Linked DNA regions of Homo sapiens: region 2 is linked to region 1. The links are contacts of gene promoters, found by promoter capture Hi-C in human tissues and cell types (Jung and others, 2019). All regions are on one chromosome and are shown on one strand. The core of a region is centred on a gene start or on the middle of the fragment in contact, and the rest is flanking DNA. Distances in the headings are between cores, read along the strand shown.

Region 1 (7,051 bases), core at 2,225-4,724:
CCTCAGACAAAAAAGGCTCAGTGGTTCCCTACCTCATAGGATATAAACTGGTCTTTCTCAAACTGCAGGAAGCACAATTTAGTCACAATTAGCAATAAAAAAAATAACACTCGGAGACTGCACAACAATGTGAATGCACTGAACACTTTTGAACTCTGTATTCCTAAATGGTTAAGATAGTAAATTTGATATATGCATATTTTACCATAATTAAAAAAAAATCTAGAATGTACCAAAGAGGAGATGTCATTTTTTTCTTCTTTGTTTTGTAATTTTTTTTGAGATGTCATTTTTATATGCTTAAAAAGCCAATCTCAATTTTCAAATTAAGTGGATCTGTAAAAAGTAGTTTAAATAAAACTCAGTCATGAAATCTTACTTTCCTGTTGGTTTACATTTTAAAATATATAAAATAGGGTTCAAAGTTTTTAAAATGTGGAAATCAAGGCCAGGCTTGGTGGCTCATGCCTGTAATCCCAGCACTTTGGGAAGCTGAGGCTGGCAGATCAGTTGAGCCCAGGAGCTTGAGACCAGCTTAGGCAACATAGTGAAACCCCGTCTCTTCAAAAAATACAAAAATTAGCGGGGTGTGTTGGCATGTGCCTGCAGTCCCAGCTGTTTGGGAGGCTGAGATGGGAGGATCAGCTAAGGTGGGAGAATCGGCTAAGGTGGGAGGATCACCTGAGCCTGGGAGGTTGAGGCTGCAGTGAGCCCTGATTATACCACCGCACCTGATTATACCTGGGTAACAGAGGGAGACCCTGTCTGAAGCAAACAAACAAATACATAAAAATAAAATAAATAAAATGTGGAAATTGAGTGGTAATACAAATAGTAAATATCAAACAATCATAAATTTTTAAGAAATAAGCATTCGTTCTTGCTACACACATAACACATATGAAAATACACTGTTTTGAGTGTTAGGCAATGAAATTGAGCGGAATAGGAAACACATTTTTCAAACATTTTAAGGGTGAATATTGTTTCACAAAACTGCTGTTGTGTCCTGCACTGTTCTACTGGCCTCCCACTAGAGCCAATGGTCCTGAGATGAGGGGGCTGGAAGTGGCCTCCTAGATCCCCGAAGCCTGTGCGAAGGACAAAGGTCAATAATCATGGTTTTCCATTCCTGAGAGTCTTTGCACCTATAGCAGTCATAGTGGGAGTCTCTCACCAGCCACTCCCATGCAGAAACTCTTTCTCTCACACAAATGTTCATAAACTTCAGTTCTGCTCTACTTTTAAAAACGAACAACACATCCTGGGGAAGGCTTTCTCGGCAACTCTTTCAGACCTCCATTCCCTTTTTGTGACTATCCTGCTGATACCTCTTCTTCCCTCCCAGTTTGTGCCATAGCTGTCTGACTTTTCTGTAATTGCCACGGAGGATGAGTCCTGCTCTGTTTTATTTATCACTGAATCCTTAACTAGCACAGTTCTTGTCCTGCAAAGATTTGCTGAATCAATGAAGAATGAAATCAACCTGATTCTTTAAAAGGCAGAGCTACTACTGCCTCCAAAAGTATCATTATTACACATACAATTTGCTTTGTATCTTCCATATTACTTACAGCATTTGTTTCTAACTATTACAATACACAATAACTTCTGCAACAAGTGTTATGGTATCACTTTTGAGAGGGAAAACTTGGGGCTTGGGAAGGTTAAGTGTCTTGCTCAAGACCAAACAGATAGTTAGTAAGTGATAAAGGCAGCATTTGAGCCCAGTTCTGTCTGGCTCTGACACCAGTCCCATTTCTCCTTTTCCTTGGTTTTTCTATATTTTCACGAGACAAGGCAGTTCTACTCTTGGCATCCTGTCAATAAACATTTTCACTGTAAAATGCCTGCTGTGCTGCACAGAGTAATCTCAGCCAGGTCTCTTACCCGACCCCACCACACAGCTGCCCATCGCGTTTCTTCTCCAGACCAACCCAAACATGGTTGGGGAGTTCAGAGGGGAGGGCCCAGCATTCCCCAGTCGGGACAAGTATCTAATCAGCAGGCCTCCTCAGCATATCAGCCCAAGACCACTCTAGAGAGAGATGCCAGTGCCCAGTTTTCTATTTTTAACTGGTGTGAACTGGAGGAAAAACACAAGCATTAAAAATCAAAGCTCCAGTCAAGAACTGAGAATGCAGGGCACCCCAGGGCAAACTAGTGATCTGTGTCCTTCTTACATCTCCCTCTTCCTTCTCCCTCTCCTCATTTCATGTCATTTTTCTTTTTCCTTCTCAAAAGTTCAAGATCCTGCAAAATCTGTTTTCCACAGAGGAGATGATATCTGTCATTTATGCCAATGCTTCTCACACTTTAATGTACATACCAAGCAAATGAGGATCTTGCTGAAAAGCGGATTGGGATGGCTCTTGAGATTGCATTTCTAGCTCATTTCCAGGTTATGACAATACTGCTTGTCCATGGGCTGCACTTTGAGTAGCAAGGATTGGTGTAGTCCTATAGTTTAAGTTGTTGCTATGTTCTCCATCAAAGTATTTGCCTTTGCAGTCTTGTCTCCACCTGGAGTGAGGGCCTCTGCCCCCAGTTTAAAGATGCTCATCTCCCCACCATCAAGTGGGCAAGCTACTTTTGGCATTTGTTCCTTTATTCACTTTGGCAGCAGGGGATCCTTTTCTGGCCTGAAGACCAGAGTCTGAATTTGAGCAAAACCCTGCAGCATGGATGAGGGCTACCCAATAACTGGGCTGGGGTAAACCTGGTCCCTTCTCCAGCAAGACTTGGCCAAGCTCTCACAGAAACCCTTTTCTGACTCTTCCCTGGCCAGACCCTGATCCATGCATGGGTTGGAACTCGGGTGGCCTTGGTTAATCTCAGCTTTCTGACCTAGATGAGCCCAGCACCAGCTCTCTGAGTAAAGCCATTCAGGCTGGCGGGGACTAGACCAGAAGGGTGCCCTGTCCTGGGTGCCCCTTTTGCAGCCACTCAGATGTGCTGCTGCGGTGTCCTTTGTGCTGGTGGCAGCCCTGGAAGATGAGAAGCCGCTGTTGCTCCCCTGCTGCCCTGGCCCAGCTGTCAGGACCCCTCAGCAGAGGGCAGGGCGCCAAGCCTTCCCACTGCATGTGGCTTATTGTCCCCAAGGCTGGCAGGGCTGCGGAGGACCGAATCCACAGACCATCCAGGGAGCACCCACACCCCAGAAAGGGGGAGGGGTGGGCTGGCGTCACTTAGTCTTCCCCTGCCCCCTACCCTTCAGCGCCTGCCCCTCCCCAGCTCCCTATTTGGCCATCCCCCTGACTGCCCCCTCCCCTTCCTTACATGGTCTGGGGGCTCCCTGGCTGATCCTCTCCCCTGCCCTTGGCTCCATGAATGGCCTCGGCAGTCCTAGCGGGTGCGAAGGGGACCAAATAAGGCAAGGTGGCAGACCGGGCCCCCCACCCCTGCCCCCGGCTGCTCCAACTGACCCTGTCCATCAGCGTTCTATAAAGCGGCCCTCCTGGAGCCAGCCACCCAGAGCCCGCTGCCGCCGGAGCCGAGCCGACCCGCCCCGCCGACGGTGAGTCAGCGCCCGGCCCTCCGCGTTCACTCCTCGCCTGGTCCGCGGGCCGCGCCGGACGCCAGCCCCGCGCCGCCACCTGGCCAGCCCGGCCCGCATTCAGCCAAGGCCCCAGCTCCTGCCGCTCTGCGACTGCCTTTTTTTTTTTTTTTTTAAAGCCCACACTTTTTGATTTGGTTCTAACTTGTTTTGTCCTGGGCGTTGGTCCTCGCAGGACCTCGCAGGGGCTCTAAGAAGGGGAATTTTGTGGCTCCCCAAGGGGCTTTTGGGTCCCTACTCTCGTGCGCTTTCCCCTCCATCTGGGGCACAGGCATGGCGATATGGACAGGGCTGGAGATCGAGTTCCCAGTTCGTGAAAAGGAAGAAAGTTAAAGGGCTGGGGAGGACTAAGGGGCTGGGTTTCTTGGGTCCCTCCTTGCACCTGGCACCCTAGCTGGAACTCCTGGCCAGGGAGCCTGGGTGGATTCCTCTGCCCTTCTCTGTCCCCAGTCTCCTCCGCGGCTTCTTCCCTCCCTTTTATGATTCGAGGGGAAGGGAGGTGGCAGGAGTGTTCCCCGCCCAACCCCCTGTCCAGTCCCCACAACCCCCTTCTGCTCTGTCCTGTCCTCTGGGTGCGGAGAAGGCCAGCTGCACAGGCAGCTAAGCGTGGTCCGCCCTCCCCTCCTCAACCTGCAGAACCCCCTGAAGCTGTGCCAAGATGTGTGACGACGAGGAGACCACCGCCCTGGTGTGCGACAACGGCTCTGGGCTGGTGAAGGCCGGCTTTGCGGGCGATGACGCGCCCCGCGCTGTCTTCCCGTCCATCGTGGGCCGCCCGCGGCACCAGGTAAACTTCCCGCCGAGCCCCCCGTCCCACTCGGGACCCCTTCAGTCCAGCGATCTAGGAAATGGCTCTCACCTGACCCTCTTGTTCGATGAACTCTTTAGGCCAAATTAAGAGAAGGCTGATTGACTTCAAATCCAAGCCAAGGCAAGCAATACTCCACAAAACCCCAACATACTGAGGAATGTACACCTGAGTGGCACGCCTCTAAAAGGGTCCCACTCCCTGGTGTGAAAGCCACCTGCTTCTCTCCACTAATGGCCTTTTGGACTTTTAGTCTTTAGTGTCTTCTCTGCCTTATACACTTCATTTTCTTCCTTGTCCTCTCTTTTCAGTCCTGTTTAAAACTTCTAACAATATCACCTCTCCCAACCAACCAGGACCAAATCCACATTCCTCTCTCATGTTCACAGCCAGTTTACAGGGTTCCCCAAAGGTGTAATCAATCTATCTCCTTCCTGGCTGTTGCATTTTTAGAAGCCAGGCGTGACAGAGGCAGCAAGTGCCATGGTGATAGTGACATACCACCTCGTTTGTTAAAAGACATGCCATGCTCTCTGGGTTTGTCACATGCCTGGCCAGACAGGCTGCCAAGCAGGAGAGCTTAGTCCTCAGAGCTGGTGAATGACTCCAGAACAGCTCTGGACAGGCTGAATTTCACTGTTGGAGTGAGGATGGCATATCAGCCCATCATTATGTGTTCACTTGAATGTCAAAATCTTTTTCTTAGGAGAAATACAATGTGTCATTAATTCAGTCATTCCAAAATGCAGTCATCTATATTCCAGTTGACATGGGTGATGAGCTTAATAACTTAATGAAGGCATATGATATTTTTAAGGTGAGGTGAGGCTCTGCTTCTTCAGTGGAATAGCTTCATTCTCTCCTGAGTTATATTCTCAACAATAGAATTATACATCTTTGGGGGAGTGGGGAGAAGGTAGAAGATTGATTTTTAAATAATTCTTCTAAATTGGGGTAAAATCGTATTGCTTGTTATTTCTGGTATTTAAATATGTTCCTTGACTTGGGCAGTTAGATATAAATGGACAAGACACTGATTATATTCCTGACATGGTGAGAGCATGATTTTCTCATTTTTTCTTCTCATAGGGAGTTATGGTGGGTATGGGTCAGAAGGACTCCTACGTAGGTGATGAAGCCCAGAGCAAGAGAGGCATCCTGACCCTGAAGTATCCCATCGAGCATGGTATCATCACCAACTGGGACGACATGGAGAAGATCTGGCACCACACCTTCTACAATGAGCTCCGTGTGGCTCCCGAGGAGCACCCCACCCTGCTCACAGAGGCCCCGCTGAACCCCAAGGCCAACCGGGAGAAGATGACTCAGATCATGTTTGAGACCTTCAATGTCCCTGCCATGTACGTGGCCATCCAGGCAGTGCTATCCCTGTATGCTTCTGGCCGTACCACAGGTATGCTGGGCTCTGGGGACAGTTACTGATGAATCACATTCCCAAGTCACCGACCTTGCTGTGAATCAGATCCCCCAGTTGAAAAAGGGATAATCCCTTTCCTCCCATTCCCTAGCAAGGTCTGTGCTAAGAGAAAGAGTTAACAGTAGTGCCCTGAGGTTAGTTTCGGAGCACAATTATTGTTGGAGCTGATAGCTTGTGGAGATAGGTCCTTCCCTCATTTAAAGCTCAGCGCAGTGTAGCAGCTTGGAGTGCAGCAGTCATTGTTATGTGTTTAAACCATCACATCACCTGGGCAAGCATCCCCAAGGAGAATACATTCCATACAGGGTCTGAGTCAAAAGAGAGAGAAACGTGTAAGTTCAATAGGAGCAAAGAAAAACACCCTTGGGTGCTTACATAATGTGCTCGTGGCTGACAAGAAAGATGGTCATTTGAAAGTGTCCTCGGGAATTTTTTCTACTATAATAGTTAAAAAGATGAGCTGCAGTTTGCTTCAGATTTAGTATTCCTGATGCGCATTTTTATTCTTTGTGTGTAAGGAATCTAATTTTATCTGGATCAATGCCCATTGCTAGCATCTCTTAGCCAAGATTGGAAGCGGGCTTTGCCGTGGCTAGAGCAGTGGTGTTGTCCTCAGGAATTTACCTTGTTCTTGTCTACTTCCCCGGGCAGGCATTGTTCTGGACTCTGGGGATGGTGTAACTCACAATGTCCCCATCTATGAGGGCTACGCTTTGCCCCATGCCATCATGCGTCTGGATCTGGCTGGTCGGGACCTCACTGACTACCTCATGAAGATCCTCACTGAGCGTGGCTACTCCTTTGTCACCACTGGTGAGTGTGTGTGTCTCATCTGCCACAGTGTGGGTCTGCTTTCCTCCTCTCTCACTGAATCCGCCTACCTCCCTATAATTGACTTCTTGCTTCAGAGCATGACTGTGATACTCTTTATTTCTGTAGCTGAACGTGAAATTGTCCGTGACATTAAAGAGAAGCTGTGCTATGTCGCCCTGGATTTTGAGAATGAGATGGCCACAGCTGCCTCTTCCTCCTCCCTGGAGAAGAGCTATGAACTGCCTGATGGCCAAGTCATCACTATTGGCAATGAGCGCTTCCGCTGTCCTGAGACACTCTTCCAGCCCTCCTTCATTGGTGAGTTGTAGGGTCTGGTGCAGAGGCACGATTTTCCCTGGAAATCTTAGGGTCTCCCAGAGTAAAATCTAGAAGGCTCAAGAAGCCCTTGAGTTAAAAGAAGTCATAGTTTGGATTC
Region 2 (7,175 bases), core at 4,251-6,750, 110 kb after region 1:
TTTAACTTTGATTTTAGGTTTAGGGGTACATGTGAAGATTTGTTACATAGGTTAACGTGTTATAGGGGTTTGTTGTACCTATTATTTCACCACCCAGTATTAAGTCCAGTACCCAATAGTTTTTTCTGCTCCTCTCCCTCCTCCTATGGGTAGATAACTACTGGGCCTGATACCTTGGTGATGTTGTTTCCTTCTTCGTATCCATAAGTTATCATTTAGCTCCCACTTATAAGTGAGAACATGTGGTATTTGGTTTCCTCTTCTTGCATTAGTTTGCTAAGCATAACAGCCTCCAGCTCCATCTATGTTCCCACAAAAGACATGCTCTTGTTCTTTTTTTACAGCTGCAAAGTATTCCATGGTGTATATGTACCACATTTTCTTTATCCAATCCGTCATTGATGGGCGTTTAGGTTGATTCCACAACTTTATTATTGTGAATAGTGCTGCAATGAACATTCGCGTGCATGAGTATTTATGGTAGAATGATTTACATTCGTCTGGGTATATACCCAGTAATGCGGTTGCTGGGTCTAATGGTATTTCTGTTTTTAGCTCTTTGAGGAATCGCCACACTGCTTTCCACAATGGTTGAACTAATTACACTCCCACCAACAGTGTGTAAGTGCTCCCTTTTCTCCACAACCTTGCCAGCATCTGCTATTTTTTGACTTTTTATGTAATAGCCATTCTGACTGGTGTGAGATGGTATCTCATTGTGGTTTTGATTTGCATTTCTCTAACGATCAATGATATTTGGCTTTTTTATATGCTTATTGGCCACAGGTATGTCTTCTTTTGAAAAGTGTCTTTTTGTGTCCTTTGCCCACATCTTAATGGGGTTGTTTGTTTTTCTCTTGTAAATTTGTTTAAGTTCCTTACAGATGCTGGATATTAGACCTTTGTCAAATGCATAGTTTGCAAATCTTTTCTCCCATTTTGTAGGTTGTCTGTTTACTCTGTTGATAGTTTCTTTTGCTGTGCAGAAGCTCTTTAGTTTAATTAGATCCCACATATCAATTTTTGCTTTTGTTGCAATTGCTTTTGGTGTCTTTGTCATGAAATCTTTGCCCGTTTCTATGTCCATGATGGTATTGCCTAAACTGGCAGAAAGAGAGCACAGATAGGAAGTAAGGAATGCCCACCAAAGATGTGACTAAATGGAAGTCATTGTGTCTTCTCAAAGGAAAAAGTGGGAACTTACTTACAGAGTTCTTTGTGGACTAAAGGCAACAAGAGGGTACGGTCTTATGTCCTGTAGAGCTTAGTGATCAGTAGTTTCTGGAAAAAGACTTCCTAGGTTCAAATCCTGCCTCTGCCCCTGTGAACAAGCTGCTGTGCCCCAGTTTTCTCCAGTATAGAATGAGGGAAATAACATCACCTTAGAGGATTTTTAGAGAAAAATAAGTGAGATGCTTCAATAAAGCATTAAGCACTGTACTTGCCTCATGGTAACTTTTCAGGAAATGTGAGACAAAAAATTATTTATTTTATAAAGGAAAACAATAGGCTGTAAAAGAAGCAGTTTCTCATTTTCTGAAATACATATATCTTCCTTTTGGCAGGGGCAGGGAGTAAGGTTTAGGAAGAGTATTTTTCCAGAGGGAGATAGTGAGAATGAATTAATGATTTTGTGACTCATGGGGCATGAGGTCATATGACACGGTTTCATGTAGCTTCCCACTGACATAGTTCAGGGCTGCACAAACAGCGTGGAAGGCTTTGGGCATGGGGCCAATGAAAAGTGAGAATGGATCCCTTGGAGGCTGAGGCTAGAGATGCCGGCAGAACACTTGGGCTGGGAATCCTATGGATAGTTGAGAAAAGCGGAACTAGGACAGCCCCTAGGTATGGAAATATGGAGGGAAGAAAGTCAAACTTATTTTTGTTGACTAGTGGCCCAAATACCTGAGGTGGAGTGTTTCTCAGTGACCACAGGATTGGCTCAGAGTAAATAGTTGATGGGGCAAGGGAATGTAAGTTGAAGAGAGGTGTTGTTGGAATGCAGGAGCAATCACATGGGCTTAAGGGCCTGAGCAGCTTTCATATTGCTCTTCTATTGAGGTTCAAAGATGGAGGGCTGGAGAGGAGGGCCAGTATAGGCAGAAATTGCCTCCCCCATTTTATAGAATGTGTTCCTCTTGGAGTATGCTCTGGGCAGTTCCAGGAGTTCTGAGCAAGGCATACATGGCTAAGTTCATGTTTAGTTACTCACATTCTGAAGTCACTGACACCTATCAGACCATCTTGTCCTTGAGGAAAGACTACTTTGCAAGCTCTGCCTGTGCCTTTCTGTGGGAAGCCAGAAGAGCAACGGGTGTCATTGTTGGCTCCATGAGAGAGGTCATTTTGCTTGGTGAGAGATTATAGGCAAAAATAGAAGCCCCAATGTAGTCTCCTGGGCAAATGACTTATTCATGGGTTCTAAATTATTGAGGTCATTGAAGAGAGTGCTATTTTTAACCTTTGAGAAAGGAAAGAACGGGGTGAACTGGGCTTTAGGGAGGACTGTGTCTTCATAGGGCAAAAGGCAATGGTGTAAACAGGCGCTGAAAAGAAAGGTAGGGGTCGGTGCATGCACCCTGAGAGGGGCATGTGCTCAGTGCATGACCCTCAGAAGTCTTCTGTGTATAGATGGGTATGCCTCATTTGCAACCAGCCAGCCACAAGGAAGGAGACTTAGAGAGCTGAATTGGCAATATAGGCAGATGTCTTAGCTAGAGCCATTTTTCAGAGAGCCAGGGAGAACTCTGTGCCACAAAATGCTATTCCTACATTTTGTATTCCTTCAGAGCTTAAAGGCTTTGTTTTTCTCCTGAAATGTAAATGTTCCCTAGGAGATTCCACACATTGATGGTTTATCAGTGGCCACCTCAATTATTGGTGAACACCTTTGCAGGAAAATGAATCAATAGTTGATTGAGAGCAAAAATGGGGTGTAGAATAATGCTTAGGGTGGGAGTAATGGAGGAGAGTTCCAGTGGATGAAGCGCCTGGGCTGTAAGAATGTAGGAATGAAGACCCTGAGAAAGTAGAGAAAAATTAACAATGGAAAACTTATGTTTGTGTTGGGCTCAGAATATGATACTCCAAAGCATGGCGCTTTGGTGTGCTGAGTACTTTGAACTGAAGAAAATTGGAAAGGCCTCAGAACCAAGGTCTTTCCCATCTTCTCCCATCCTCCTGTCTCCTGCTTCTCTTTCTTCCCCAAAGTGAGTCATAGAAGCCACACTTCCCCTTCCCCAAGGTGGGTCATAGAAACTAGAACTCCTCTTTCTCAAAGCCACCCGTAAAACCTAGAAAGGTCATTCTCTCCCTTCTCCCTTGAAGACCCTCATTCCAGAGGGACCCCTTCCTAGGAGGAAGAAACGCTACACAGAGAGGTCAAGAAGAAGCTGAACAGACAGGTCTTGCTTGCTTTCCCCCTCAGTCTGTTGCTCTCGGATTATACCCTTTCTGTCCAATCACATTTTTATACAGCTGTCCATTCTTCATCAAACCCAAGCATAAAAAAGAAAGTTCTTCCTGGCTTTTGGGTCTTCATTTCTCAAGGCTCCTATGTCGTGTAAAACTTTGGTTAAATAAATGTATTATGATTTTCTCTAGTTAACCTGTATTTTTTTATAAGAATATTGGCCATGACCCTTATGATGGGTTAGGAATAGTATCATAATTTCCTGTTCCTACATTTGAAAACACAATATTTCTACTGCACTATTTCTGACCTCCTTAAAGGAATTCTAGATTATTTCCTTTTCAATCCATTTTGTAATCCCTTATAACAACTTCTCACCCAGATCTGATCCATAAGTATTTATAAATAGCCTATACTTTGTATATGGGTTTGCTGGTTCTTTCATTTAATATTCTTTAATTCTTCTTCCTTGGTGGCTTCTGCCCATTTAGCATTCTTTTAAACTTCCCAGTGTTTAAGTCTCATTGCTCAAAGTGGGAAATCCCTAAACTTGTGAGGCGGAGCTTACTTCCCACTATAGAAGCTCCCTTGTAGCTATGAGTAAGCCCTAACCTACTCCACCCCAGACATAAGCCTCCACCTCAGATGAGTCTCCACCCAACCCAGCCACGAAATTAGAGGCTGGTGACCCAAGAAAGCAGGGAGGCTGCTGGATCCTTGCTGGGGAGAATGGAGGCAGCTACCTCCAGTTTCTATTGGCAACATTCTGAGTCCCACATCATGGCATCAGCAAAATGCAGCATCTATGGTATCTGTGCCATTTGTGCCTGTGGTGTCTTCATGGCACCAGCTCTGTGGTCTGCCCATCTCTTCCTCCTAGACATTTTATGAGCTAGCCAATATCCTCTTAACAAAATCCAATTCTGCTTAAATTGAAAAGGGTTTGTATCTATTATGAGTCACTTAGTGTTCTAATGGTTTACTTAATTTTACACATACCTTTTTCTATGTCACAGCACTTTACAAATATTAATCATTTCATTCAGCTCAGATGCCAAGTCTCTGGAGTAGAAAATATTATCCCCATTTTATACAAACGGAAACCAAGGTCCAGAGAGGATACTTAGTTTGCCTTAGATAACTCAGTTGGTAAGTGCAGAACTGGTATTCAAATCCAGGCTGTCCATGCTCTTAACCATTCTTTTCCCCTGATCCCCAGAGAGATCTTTCCCCATTATCTTCTCTTGCAAATCCCCTCTCCCCACCACTTCTCTCTGCCTTCATGCTTGGGCATTCCCTATCCTGTAATGAAAGAAAGAAAGAGAGACAGAGAGAGAAAGAAAAGAAAGAAAGAGAAAGAAAGAAAGAAAGAAAGAAAGAAAGAAAGAAAGAAAGAAAGGCAAATTTCATGCAGAGTAACAAAGGTAGGAATGACAATTGATTTCTTTTCAATAACAACACAAGTGAGAAAACAGTGGAGCAACATCATTTAAGAAATGAAAGTAGAAAGCTCTCAACCTAGACTTCTACACCCAGTGAAAATATTCTTTGAAAATGAAAGTAAAATAAAGGTCTTTTAAGACACATAAAAGCTGAAGATAATTATTACCAGCAGACCTGTCTATAAGAAATGTAATGAAAGTCCACTGTATTAGTCTGTTCTCACGCTGCTAATAAAGACATACCCGAGACTGGGTAATTCATAAAGGAAAGAAGTTTAATAGACTCACAGTTCCACATGGCTGGGGAGGCCTCACAATCATGGCAGAAGGCAAGGGAGGGGCAGAGGCGTGTCTTACATGGCAGCAGGCAAGAGAGCCTGTGCAGGGGAACTGACCTTTATAAAACCATCAGACCTTGTGAGACTTATTCACTATCATGAGACCAACACAGGTAAAACCCATTCCCATGATTCAATTACCTCCTACCAGGTCCCTCCCATGACATGTGGGGTTTATGGGAGCTACAATCCAAGATGAGATTTGGGTGGAGACACAGCCAAACCATATCATCCATCGAGTAGAAGAAAAATGCTACCTAATGGAAATATGAAAATACACAAAGAAATGAATAGCACTGGAAAAGATAACTAACTACATATGTAAATACGTAAGATTTGTTTCTTATCATTTAAATCTTTAAAAAGATAATCATACTGGTTTGCTAGGGCTGCCAACAAAATACCACAGTCTGGGTGGCTTAAACAACAGCAATTTATTTTCTCACAATTCTAGAGGATAGAAGTCCAAGATGAAGGTGTCAGCAGGTTTAGTTTCTTTGGAGGCCTCTCTGCTTACAGACAGCCACCTTCTTGCTGTTTCCTGTGTATGTACGCATCCCTAGTGTCTCTGTATCCAAATTTTTTCTTCATATAAGGACATCAGTCCAACTGGATTAGGACCCACTTTAATGGTCTTGTTTTATTTTAATCACTTCTTTAAAGACTCTTTCTCTAGATACATTCTGAGGTACTCGGGATTAGGGCTTCAGCAAATACATTTTTTATGGGGAAGGAGGTACACAATTCAGTTTATAACAATAATTAAATGTTTAAACACAATAATAACTATGTAGTATGGAGTTTAAAAAATATAAAGAAGAAAAATCTATGATAAAATTGCACCAGGGCCTGGAAGAAAAAAAGTATATACTTGAAAGGGTCTTATACTTCATATAATACCACATGAAGGTAGGCTATGATAAGATGCATACTATAAAATCTAAAGCAACCTCTAAAACAAACAAAACATTGTAGCTATTAAGTCAACCAAAGATATAAATGGTGCCATAAAACTACTCAACTACTCCAAACTAAAGCAAATAAAAAGGAAAACAGGAAATAAATTACAGACAGGACAAATAAAAAATAGCAAGGTAGGAGATTTAAATCTAATCATATGAATAATCACATTAAATATAAATGATCTAAGCACCCGAATTAAGAGGCAGAGACTGTCAAATTGAATAAAAGAAGCAAGATCTAACTTGCTCCCTATAAGAAACTTAGATTAAATAAAAACACACAAATAAGCTAAAAGTAAAAGACGGGAAAAATATACTATGCTTCTCTCTATTAAAAAAAATCTGGAAGGGTCATATTAATATCAAACAGAGTAGATTTCAGATTCAGATTTCAGAGACAAGATTATTTTATAATTTTAAAAGAATCACTTAATCAAGAGGACATCACAGTCCTAAATGTTTATGTACGTTAATAATAATGCTTCAAAAGACAGGAAACAAAAAATTTGATAAAATTTCAAGGAGGAATAGATAAATTCACAATTATGTTTGTGGATGCTAAAGAAACTCCGTCTTGAAGAGTAAACCACTATGTTGGGTTCTGATTAACCCGTTCCAGGAAGGGCTCTAAGACTTCCGGTTAATCTATTGTTCCTGTGTAACAGCAGGTACTTACCATAAATCCTGCCTTTATGTCAAGTAACCTTGATGCTATCATACTTCAATTGTCCTACACATCCCTTCTGAACCACTCCTGGTATATAAGTCCTGGGTCTGGGAGGTCTTGGTTCAGGGATCCACCATCTTGTTTTGTTGCCACCCTAGACACAGACATGGCTTCTGTTCTTAATTCCTTATTAAATATGACTTTCTTTTCTTTTTTTCTTTTCTTTTTTTTTTCTCAGACAGAGTCTCACTCTGTCTCCCAGGCTGGAGTGCAATGGCGCGATCTCGGCTCACTACAAGCTCTGCCTTCTGGGTTCACGCCATTCTCCTGCCTCAGCCTCCCAAGTAGCTG

The links. Contacts are between HindIII fragments. The study calls those that stand out against the background at their distance.
Region 2: a fragment that was not itself captured here is called in contact with the fragment with the promoter of ACTC1 in region 1 in 2 of the 25 tissues and cell types used here (aorta and stomach).

What each region holds. Positions count from the first base shown.
Region 1 is chr15:34,791,972-34,799,022 of GRCh38, reverse strand. It overlaps ACTC1 (actin alpha cardiac muscle 1), which reads left to right and starts at 3,474. Exons shown (of 7, transcript NM_005159.5): 1 at 3,474-3,517; 2 at 4,193-4,343; 3 at 5,454-5,778; 4 at 6,454-6,615; 5 at 6,742-6,933. The coding sequence starts at 4,215. All of the region lies in intron 2 of GJD2-DT (GJD2 divergent transcript), which reads right to left. RefSeq lists an enhancer at 1,856-2,327. The HindIII fragment of the contact is 17,333 bases long and covers 1-7,051 here.
Region 2 is chr15:34,688,055-34,695,229 of GRCh38, reverse strand. No RefSeq gene overlaps it. Among named protein-coding and RNA genes, the nearest start is that of LINC02252, 36 kb to the right of the region's middle. The HindIII fragment of the contact is 7,290 bases long and covers 1,856-7,175 here.